Regions from separate parts of the Homo sapiens genome. Here all the other regions are linked to region 1. The links are contacts of gene promoters, found by promoter capture Hi-C in blood cells and fetal thymus (Javierre and others, 2016). All regions are on one chromosome and are shown on one strand. The core of a region is centred on a gene start or on the middle of the fragment in contact, and the rest is flanking DNA. Distances in the headings are between cores, read along the strand shown. Region 1 holds the start of XRCC5 (X-ray repair cross complementing 5). Region 2 overlaps IKZF2 (IKAROS family zinc finger 2). Region 3 has its middle 10 kb from the start of RETREG2. Region 4 overlaps DNPEP-AS1 (DNPEP antisense RNA 1).

What was found. The method cuts DNA at HindIII sites, captures the fragments that hold promoters and counts their contacts. A CHiCAGO score of 5 or more calls a contact.
Region 2: a contact is called between a fragment that was not itself captured here and the fragment with the promoter of XRCC5 in region 1, in 1 of 17 cell types (fetal thymus). The highest score is 5.6, in fetal thymus.
Region 3: a contact is called between a fragment that was not itself captured here and the fragment with the promoter of XRCC5 in region 1, in 1 of 17 cell types (neutrophils). The highest score is 5.7, in neutrophils.
Region 4: a fragment that was not itself captured here is called in contact with the fragment with the promoter of XRCC5 in region 1 in 1 of 17 cell types (neutrophils); the score reaches 7.8 in neutrophils.

Annotation. Positions count from the first base shown.
Region 1 is chr2:216,107,939-216,110,638 of GRCh38, reverse strand. XRCC5 (X-ray repair cross complementing 5) reads right to left here and starts at 1,291. Exons shown (of 21, transcript NM_021141.4): 1 at 1,182-1,291. The coding sequence starts at 1,202. RefSeq lists an enhancer at 946-1,567. The HindIII fragment of the contact is 16,954 bases long and covers 1-2,700 here.
Region 2 is chr2:213,015,071-213,017,810 of GRCh38, reverse strand. All of the region lies in intron 7 of IKZF2 (IKAROS family zinc finger 2), which reads left to right. Among named protein-coding and RNA genes, the nearest start is that of MIR4776-2, 90 kb to the right of the region's middle. The HindIII fragment of the contact is 3,046 bases long and covers 1-2,740 here.
Region 3 is chr2:219,187,399-219,190,098 of GRCh38, reverse strand. No RefSeq gene overlaps it. Among named protein-coding and RNA genes, the nearest start is that of RETREG2, 10 kb to the right of the region's middle. The HindIII fragment of the contact is 8,156 bases long and covers 1-2,700 here.
Region 4 is chr2:219,394,035-219,396,734 of GRCh38, reverse strand. The region is part of intron 2 of DNPEP-AS1 (DNPEP antisense RNA 1); the gene reads right to left. It also overlaps a transcript of DNPEP not described here. Among named protein-coding and RNA genes, the nearest start is that of DNPEP-AS1, 6.8 kb to the right of the region's middle. The HindIII fragment of the contact is 3,679 bases long and covers 1-2,700 here.

The DNA.
Region 1 (2,700 bases), core at 42-2,541:
GGTCTATATTTCTGAGTTCCTATCTGGCAGCAGTAAGAAAACTGAGAAAGAGAAACCGGGTAGCATAGCAACTCTTCATTTCTATACCGAAGCAATACAGGCTGTTAGAATTTTACTTCCAGTTCATCTGCAACAAACAGCTCCTCCACTAGAGCTACAAAGTTTTCAGCAGCTGAAAGAGGACGAAAAAAGGAGGTGAGTGGCATTATTAAAAGTTCATGATCGTTTTAATCAACATTTCTCAATGAGGAGTTGAGGGAACTAGGGATCAGTTGCTCAAACTCGTATCTTGTTTATCTGTATTGAATAAATTCATTAATCCCTGGAACCACATCTCCCTCTAGTGACCCTTCAGAGACAACTACCACTCTTTTATGTTGAAAAAAAAAAATCACTTTAAAATTCATTGTAATTTCTGTTACTGATCTGGGACACCAATGGTCATAGATTTCTAGCAACACAGGGGTTCTCCAGGGCCCTGAAACCAGACAGCTTGGATTCAAATCCGGATTTCACCAGGAAAAGCCCACAGTTCTTTATTCCTCGGTTTTCCCACTTGCAAAATGGGGATAAATAGTTTTCACTTCAAGGGGTTGTGAAGATTAAATGAGATAAGAATAAAAGGTTTAGATCCGTCCCTCACAGAGTGGGCTTTCAATAAATGCGGGATACTACGTTATTATAAAGCTAATAATACGACGCTTTACAGTTTAAGTTATTTTAGTCACAGATAGTCCCTCTCTTAAGTTTTACAACAAGCCCTGTGGGATAGTTGCTTTATCACAGCTAATTTTCATTCTCATAGAGATCTTAAGAACCCAGGCTCGGAAGTAATAGAGGAAGTGGGGCTAGGGAGTGGAATGGGATAAAGAGAGAGAGAGGGGAGGCGGGTGGGGAGGCAGGTGAGACAAAGAGCAGGTAGAGAGGGAGAAGAGGGATGGGATGGGTGGGTAATGGAAGAGGTGGAGTCAGCGAGGCTCAAATTCAGGTCTTGGAGCCCCAAATCTCCAGCTTTTCTCATAGCGCATCCCTCGGTCCCGGCCCTCCTGACTGAGCCCACCACCATGATCTTCTCTTGCCCCATTCTTTGTCTTGACCGCGATCCCACGATTCCTGCTTCCGAACCACCCTCTCCGGATCCCCAGTCCGGGTAAAGCCCAAGTCCATGGCTTTCTTTATACCTTATTCCCCGACCGCACCATGTTGCCGGTCCTCAGGCGCTTTGGTCGCTTCTTCCGGGCGGGAACCTGCCGTGTCGCAACTCGCTTCCGGTGGACAAGCGGCAGATAGCGGAAAGAGCCGCTTCGTTTCCTGCTAGGCCTGAAAGGGGCGGGGAAACCGTGCCCCGGAACTCTGAGCATGCGCAGATTCCCGCCGAGCTTGCGCAGATTCCCGCCGAGCTCGCGCAGATTCCGGCCGAGCATGCGCAGATTCTCTCCGAGCATGCGCAGATTCCCGCCGAGCATGCGCAGATTCCCGCCGAGCATGCGCACATTCTCTCCATTCCGCCGTAGTCGGGAGCGTGTGGTGTTTGAGCCGCCTGAAACGCTAGTACGACAGATTTACTTAAAGATTCACTTAATCACTTAAAGATTCACGTCCCTTTTCTCTCATTGAGAATAACACCTAAGGCATTTTGTGTCAGAGCTCTGGAGTTAGATTTCTTTTCTTTTTTTTACTTTTTTAAAAAATCTTTTTTCCTTTAATTTCATTTTTTCATTTATTTTTTATAACTTTTGATTTTTTTTTTTCTCATCACTTGTGGGTTTTTTTCTACTTTTTATTTTTGGTTATTGTGGAGTTAGATTTTCTTGAGTATGAGTATGAATGCAGAAAGTCACTTAACTTCTCTAAAAGACTCAGTTTCTTCTAAAAAGTGATAATGAAACACTTCACCGATGTGATAACCTTAGAGCCAACTGGGGAAGAAGAGTAGGACGTCCCCAGGAGCACAAAAGTAGAAGGGAGATTCTACTCTGCAGAGAAAATGGGATGCACAAACGCCTGGAGGCATGAGACTTTATCTGCTAAGGCTCTCCCAGTAGTTAGCAGTGGCTCCAGCTTGGAAGGGAGGAGTCAAGGTTTAATTTAGAAGACAAGTCTAGGGAGATATAGAAATAGCAGCTGTCATCACAGTGCTTTACTTGATCACGAGCCCTTTGTCCAGCCCGCATCCCCTACCCCTTTGAGGGAGGCAGGCCCAAGCAGTACCTTGCATAGAAATGACTGCTTTCTATACCATATGACCCCCAGCTGACAGGTGGCTGGACGAAGGGTCTGGCAACCTGCAAAGTGTCTGCAAACCTCTGCCCAAACTGAGAAAATCAAGTCCAATCAATATTCTCTCCTGCTTGAAAATTGTTTCTGGGAAAAGCAAGAATTGAAGCTGAAAAGATGTGGAGAATCTATGAGCCAAAATTATAAATACATTGAAGCCTCTAGAATGTAGAGTCAGACATATTCAGAGGTGCTCATAGAGCCCAGGAGGTTCTTCCAGCTTTTGATTCAAACTCAAGGAGTTACTTAAAAGCTGAAATATTATTTTTAATAATACTTTAAAGGAACAGCAGCGCCCTGGCCGCTCAGCTTTGCGCGGGCTGCAGCAGGCAGGCAGGCAGGCACGGACACTCGCCCTTCCCTGCGGGTAAGATTTCCAAGAGAAAGATCAGCTCGGCAGAAGGGGCGGGGAAGATCTGTGAG
Region 2 (2,740 bases), core at 117-2,616, 3.1 Mb after region 1:
ATTATAGTACTATGTGATAAGCATTATGGAGACAGAGAGGACATACCTAAATCAGCAGAACATCCAAGAGGAATTTCCCGGGATTGAGCTTAGTTTTAAAAAGCAAAAATGTGAACTAATAAATGGAGAAGGGTGTTTCCTGCAGAAAGAACAACATATGTGAACAACTACCAATGTAGCATCTAAAACACTTGGGGTACCTCCATGTGTGTTTGTAAAGAGATGTGGTAGGGAGGAGGAGAGGCAGAAGACTGGATGAAAGGAAGAAATCTAGGATTTTCCACAGGTGACCAGCATGGCTGATGGAGTAAATAGTAGTGTCATTCAGTGATATGGTAATTAGTAGTGTCATTCAGTGATATGGTAATTAGGAAAATAGAAGAAAGAAAGGTAAATGGAGATTTTACTTCTTTTACTATATTCTTTTATGTCTCCATGAAATAGGCAAATAAAACTGTCTAGGAAGATGTTAAATATATAGATCTCAAGCTCTTGAGAGGGGTCTGAGTAGGAAACAAAGATGCAGGATCCATCATAATTTATGTAGTGGCCCAACGTAGTAGTTTTTAATAAGGCAATACGGATAAGTACAGAGTGAGACATCAAGAAGGCCAAGAACACACTAGCAGGAAAAAAATTTCATGAAGATGAGTAAGAGCAGAGTAGGAACATGGAAAGAGTGATTTCACAGAAGCCAAAGCAAGTGTCAGCACTGCCAAATGCTGTCAAGAAAATAACTAAGATAACTGTAAAGTTTTTTTTTTAGATCGGGTAACACGGAGAAAATTTGCAACAATATAGAAGACATCTGTTGTTTTTGCCTGCCTGACATCCCTTCCTCCTTCTCTTGATAACAAGAGTGCCCATTTACCTTTAGAGAACTTTCCTGTTGCATGTAGCTGTGGTGGGACCCTCAGTCCAGGTACTCTGCCCTCTCCTGCTCAGGAGCTAGACATGTGATCTAACCTAGGTCCCTCAGACTTGGAATTTGAATTTGGGTGAACTGTTTGGTTTTTCAAAAGAATACATTGGGAATACACTTATGGTTTTGCCGTTATGGTTATCAACGTGATGAAACAGTGATCTAATGGAATTATGTTTTTATCTTGGTTATAACCTCAAATATAAGGTCAAAGAGGATGTTTGGTTATAAAGTTTGTTCAAACAGGGGAAGTTACCTTATTGGTATATCTTTAGCCCAGATTAATGTCTATGTGATTAATGCATTATTGAGATATCTAGAGAATTTGTTTTATGTTTCTAGCAATGTATACACAGAAATATTTTGATGAGTTGCACCCAGATCCATGAAGCAAAACAAAATCAGATTGGTTACATAATTAAGGAAAAATGTATCAGGTCTTTACCCAATGGCAGACCTTACAAATATGTCTGACTGGTTTACAAAAAGTCAATGCTCAAAATACCTCTACAAAGAGTAGTATAGCGTAATGGTTGAGCCAGGCTCTGGAGCCAGACTCCTAGTAGTAATAACATTCTCTACTAACTAGATGTAAACCCTGAGGAAATTACTTAACATCTCTGGGTCTTTCTGTTCTCATCTGTACAGTGAAGATGGTATTACACCTATTTCATGGAGTTTCTGGATGAATTAAATTAATTATTAAATGCAAAGCCTTAAAACAGCACACAGCACATAGTATACGTCAGTTATTATTATTGCCGATGTGGTAGAAACAAGATCAATTTTTGACATGAAAAGGGCTATTGTAAAGTAGAAATTAGATCAGAACTCTGCCAAAATCATCATTTTCAGTTCACATGAGCTTCATTGAACTCGGGACAAATCATCTGAATTGAGGTGGATGTGGTGTGGGACAGTTCCCACACCCAGGTTTCGTTTTGAGTGTTAAATGCGTTCAAATATGAAAATTCAGGGTGAAACTTAGAGCAAAACTGCCAGGTTTTGGACTACTCATTTCAGAACAAATTAGCATATTTAATTTTGGGGGCAAACCCGTTAACCAGTTTTGCTAGTTTTTTAGCAAAATTTACAACAACATTTTTTTTTTCTTGCCAAATTCTTTCATTTTGGATCTTGGTCTGACATATTTTCATCTTTGGTCCATACTTGGACTGCTTTTTAGTTTTATTGTTATTTCTAATAATGTAGTAAGTGCTTGTAAATCCATCATCCAAACAAAAAGTTAAGATTTTGACCACAATTTGTATCTCATTACCTGGTTCTCCACCACACCACCACCACTGTGCCATTCTTCTGACTCCCCTTACGTGAATTGGTCATCCTTGAATGTTTTTGAAATTCTTTGCTTTTTTGTTGACTCTTTTACTTTTGTGTCACTTTTTTAGTTGTTACTAAAAGAGAATATAATGTTTTATACATAATATCTTGGGACATACTTTTTCAATGTGATAACATCATTAATGATATAGTGCAGACAATGATCTGTTTCCTTGTTCCTCAGTCTCACCTTGAAACTTTTTTCCAAATTAACATCTAATAATTGCACAATCCCTTGCTATTCATAGCCAGAGGACTTCTTATTAAATGTAGATTACAATTCAATTTTTTTGACCCATCTATAGGTTAATCAAAACTTGGATGGAATGTTGATTTCTTTAAACATGTCCAAATCATGAAAACATTTTTTCACACTATGTTTCATTTTCTTCAAAATTGGTAACCTATTGGTTATTAAATACATCAACTGAATTGTGCACTGAATTTTCCTACCTTTCATCTCTTGCTTTCTCACTT
Region 3 (2,700 bases), core at 42-2,541, 3.1 Mb before region 1:
AATCCCAGCACTTTGGGAGGCCGAGGCAGGTGGATCACCTGAGGTCGGGAGTTTGAGACCTGCCTTACCAACATGGAGAAACCCTGTCTCTACTAAAAATACAAAATTAGCCAGGTGTGGTGGTGCATGCCTGTAATCCCAGCTACTAGGGAGGCTGAGGCAGGAGAATCACTTGAACCCGGGAGGTGGAGTTTGCGGTGAGCTGAGATTGCACCATTTCACTCCAGCCTATGCAACAAGAGTGAAATTCTGTCTCAAAACAAACAAAAAATTAGCTGGGCATGGTAGTGGGCACCTGTAGTCCCAGCTACTCGGGAGGCTGGGGCAAAGGGGTCACTTGAGCCCAGGAGTTTAAGGCTGCAGTGAGCTATGACCTTACAGCTGCACTCCAGCCTGGCCAACAGAGCAAGACTCTGTCTCAAAAAAGAGTCTAAATCCAAAATTGTTTTCCAAACAACATAATAATTTGATGCAATCACAGAAGATCAAGCTAGTTGGGCAATCTTACCTTAAACTCAGAAAACCCCGCTCCCAAACCAGCAAATACGAATCTCCAGCTCTAGATTGTTTGAATTGCCTTTAACCTAGTCCAGGGAAAAAGAACTCACAAGTCTATCTGCCGATTATTTTAACCTAGCTACTATTCCCTCTAGAACAGTAATGGACAAGCAAAGGCATGCATCAATAACATAGCCATGTATCAGTCACCAAACTCTTTTCACTAGTTGCTTCAAAATCTATAACTGGTTACTCTAGTATTAGTTCAATTTAGTCTAACACGCATTTTTTGAGCACCTACTATGTGCCAGACACTATGCTAGGCTTTGAGGATATTCAGATGATAAGACATTGTCTCTGCCTTCAAGAATAAGCAGTATTGTGGCGGGTATACATACGTATATATGTATCTGTATACACACACACACACACACACACACACACACACACAGACCTATATACTCTATATCCACATACTTTCAGAGAGGGTATAAGGATTCCCTGTGGTAAGTGGGAAAACAGAAGTATGCCCAATAGACTACAAAAGCACTAGGAGAGTGGGACTGACATTGGGGTGGGGGGTGGCATGGTGAGGGATATCAGGGGACATTGGTAGATGAGGTGTGGCCTGAAGTGCATCTTAAAAGATAAGTGAAAGTCGGGCATGGTAGCTCTCGATTGTAATCCCAGCACTTTGGGAGGCAGAGGCGGGTGGATCATTTGAGGTCAGGAGTTTGAGACCAGCCTGACCAACATGATGAAACCATGTCTCTACTAAAAATACAAAAAAATTAACTGGGCATGGTGGTGTGAGCCTGTAGTCCCAGCTACTTGGGAGGCTGAGGCAGGAGAATCGCTTGAACCCGGAAGGTGGAGGTTGCAGTGAGCTGAAGATTATGCCACTGCACTCCAGCCTGGGCGACAGAGCGAGACTCCATCTCAAAAAAATAAAATAAAATAAAATAAAATAAAATAAAATAAAATAAAATAAAATAAAATAAAAAGGTAAGTGAGACATTTGCCAAGTGAAGGGATAGGGGGTGTGTGTGTAGAGCAGAGGTGGGGGAGGGCAGCACAACTGAGCAGTGGGGAGGACAAGCTGTTTGGGGTTTGCTGTTGCTGTAAAGACAGGCCAGCGTCAAATCTCAGAATACTTTTTTTTTTTTTTTTTTGAGATGGAGTCTTGCTCTGCCGCCCAGGCTGGAGTGCTGTGGCATGATCTCGGCTCACTGCAACCTCTGCCTCCCGGGTTCAAGCGGTTCTCCCACCTCAGCCTCCTGAGTAGCTGGGACTACAGGCATGCGCCACCACACCCGGCTAATTTTTGTATTTTTAGTAGAGACGGGGTTTCACTAGGTTGGCCAGGCTGGTCTTGAACTCCTGACCTCAAATGAGCCATCCTCGGCCTCTCAAAGTGCTGGGATTACTTTTGTTTTGTTTTTGAGACAGAGCCTCACTTTGTCGCCCAGGCTGGAGTGCAGTTGGGTGATCTTGGCTCACTGCAACCTCCACCTCCTGGGTTCAAGTGATTCTCATGCCTCCACCTCCCCAGTAGCTGGGATTACAGGAGCACGCCACCACCACTCTTGGCTAGTTTTTGTATTTTTAGTAGAGACGGGGTTTCACCATGTTGTGGCGCCAGGCTGGTCTTAAATTCTTGACCTCAGGTGATCCGCCCACCTTGACCTCCCAAAGTGCTGGGATTACAGGCATGAGCCACTGCACCCAGCCTCAGAGACTTCCCCCTTTTTTTTTTTTCCCCAAGAGGGAGTTTTGCTCCTGTCACCCAGCCTGGAGTGCAATGGCATGATCTCGGCTCACTGCAACTTCTTCCTCTCAGGTTCAAGCGATTCTCTGGCCTCAGCCTCTCCAGTGGCTAGGATTACAGGTGTGCACCGCCACTCTTGGCTAATGTTTGTATTTTTGGTAGACACAGGGTTTCATTATGTTGGCCAGGTCTCAAACTCCTGACCTCAGGTGATCCGCCCACCTCAGCCTCCCGAAGTGCTGGGATTACAGGCGTGAGCCACTGTGCCCTGCCTCAGAAGACTTCTTGACTGTATCAGGGAGGTTGAATTTATGTCTCAGAGGAGGAGAGCCATCAGTTAACAGTAAGTAGTAGAGAGGTCATCAGATTTGTGTTTTAAGATAATCCAGCCACCTTCTTGGGCACAAATTTCAGGTGGGGGGACAAGAATATGG
Region 4 (2,700 bases), core at 62-2,561, 3.3 Mb before region 1:
ATTTTTTTCTAGGTTTGCCAGATTTAGCAAATGAAAATACAGGAAACTCAGTTAAATTTTGTTTTTAGTATAAGCATATCCCATGCAATATTTGGGACATACTTATACTGAAAAGATTATTCCTTATCTTTTTTTTTCTTTTTTTTTGAGATGGAGTCTTGCTCTGTTGCCCAGGCTAGAGTGTAGTGGTACGATCTCAGCTCACTTCAACCTCCACCTCCCAAGTTCATGCGATTCTCCTGCCTCAGCCTCCCTAGTAGCTGGGATTACAGGTGCCCGCTACCATGCCTGGCTAATTTTTGTATTTTTAGTAGAGATGGGGCTTCACCATGTTGGTAAGGCTGGTCTCGAACTCCTGACCTCAAGTGATCCGCCTGCCTTGGCCTCCCAAAGTGCTGGGATTAGAGGTGTAAGCCACCCACGCCCAGCCCTTGTTTATCTTAAATTCAAATTAAACTGGGCATTCTGTATTTCATTTGGCAACCCTAACTTTATCATGGTTAGAGTCATAACCACCATTATAATCAAGACATAGAACTATCCATCACCATCAAGATATTCCTGAGCTACTCCTTCATAGTCACACATCCCTCCCCAAATCCTCCCTAGCCCTGAGCAACCACTAATCTGTTCTCCATCTCTATAATTTTGTCATTTTTTTCACTCAGCATAAGGCACCTGAGATCCATCCACAGCGTTGCATTTAGCAACCACTCGTTCCTTTTTATCGCTGAGTATTATCCCATGAGGGCCCTTTTTCACAAAGAACAATTATTTTTCAAAATTTCTTTAATTCAGTAAGTGTTTATTGTATATCCACTACCTGCCAGGCACTGAGGATTGCAGCAGCAAAGTAAAATTGATTACATGTCACAGGCCAGCAGGTTACTTCCAGTTGACAGAGACTTCTTCCTGTGGATCCTAAGACAGGAGATGACACTGGCGCTAGGAGAGGAGGATTGGCCTCCCTAAGCACTTCCCTCTGGAGATGCTAGGGAAGGCTTTGTGAAGGAGCTTGGGAGGCAGGGTTTGCTGATGGATCTGACATGGGGTGCAAGAGAAAGAGATGCACCAAGGCTAACGCCAAGAGTTATGACCTGAAACTGGAAGGACAAAGTTGCCATTTACTGAATGTATGGCAGATGCACCTGACAGCAATAACTGAAGCACACCCTGAGAATGACCCTGAATGGCAGATATACTTGATGTGTGTTTGGAGTTCTGAGCTAAGAAATCCTGGAGTGGGCAACCTAGAGATCCTCATCTATGAGGAACCTCTGAGCCCCCTTCCCATCCTGTGGAACAAGGGCCATACAGGGGATCAAGGCGCTTTGTTTTGGGTTAAATGAAGGTTGCCAGGTAGAGGTTGTTAGGGAGCAGGTGTTGAGTGAAAATGCGTGCTTTCTGCAGGTGACAGTGGTTCTACTGTCCAGCTCGCCACCACTGGACCATCTTGTATGTAAGTTCTCCTCAATAGACCCCACGTCGGCCGGGCCCAGTGGCTCACGCCTGTGATCCCAGCACTTCGGGAGGCTGAGGAGGGCAGATTGCTTGAGGTCAGGAGTTCGAGACCAGCCTGGCCAACATAGTGAAACCCTGTCTCTACTAAAAATACAAAATTAGCTGGGCATGGTGGTGCATGTCTGTAATCCTCAGGAGGCTGAGGCAGGAGAATCACTTGAACACAGGAGGTGGAGGTTGCAGTGAACCGAGATCGCACCACTGCACTCCAGCCTGGGCAACAGAGTGAGACTCCCTCTCAAAAAAAAAAAAACCTTGTCTTGTTTGCTGGCTCTGGGTCTCTTCTTTGGCCTCTTGAACCTGGGGCCTTCCTTATTGGAGTGGACAGGGGTTCAGCACAACACTGAGATGGGAAGAATGTGGATGGAATAGGTTTGGGGAACAAGGAGTTCAGATTAAGACATATTACACTGGAGATTCCTATTAGGCACACATATGGAGACTGTGCAAAAACAATTGGATATATGAGAATATATATAGTTCAGAAGAGATATCTGGGCTAGGGATACATAAATTTGACAATTGTCAGGGTATGGATACTATTTAAAGTCATGAGATTGGACATTAGCAAGGGAGTGAGGGTAGAGAGATTTCTAAGCACTGAGCCCTGAGGCCTTCCATTTAAAGATGGGAGATGAGGCCAGGCACCGTGGCTCATGCCTGTAATCCCAGCAGTTTGGGAGCCCCAGGTAAGAGTATCGCTTGAGGTCAAAGTTGGAGGCCAGCCTGGCCAACAAAGTGAGACCTCATCTCTATTTTAAAAACATGAATATAATAAAATAATAACAACATTAAAGATGGGAGATGAGGAGGAGCCAGAAGAGACCCAAAGGAGTGGTGGTGAGGGTAGTAAGTGTCTGGAAGGCCAAGTGAAGAGAGTGTTCCCAGGAGAGCAAACGGCTATGTCAAATAGGACCCATGGGTCAACGACAATGGGGACTGAAAATCGACCATTGGGTTCAGCATTGTGGAGGTTGCTTTTGACCTTGACAAGAAAAGTTGCGGTGGAATGACAGCGGTAAAACCTCATTCTAGAGGATTTACAAGAGAATGGGAGGAGAGGAATCGGGAAAACATAAGACTAGATAGTTCTTTTTAAAAGAGATTTACATAAAGAGGAGAAGGAAAATGAGGCCACTGCTGGAGGGAGACTGGGGGTTAAGGGAGGATTATTTTTTC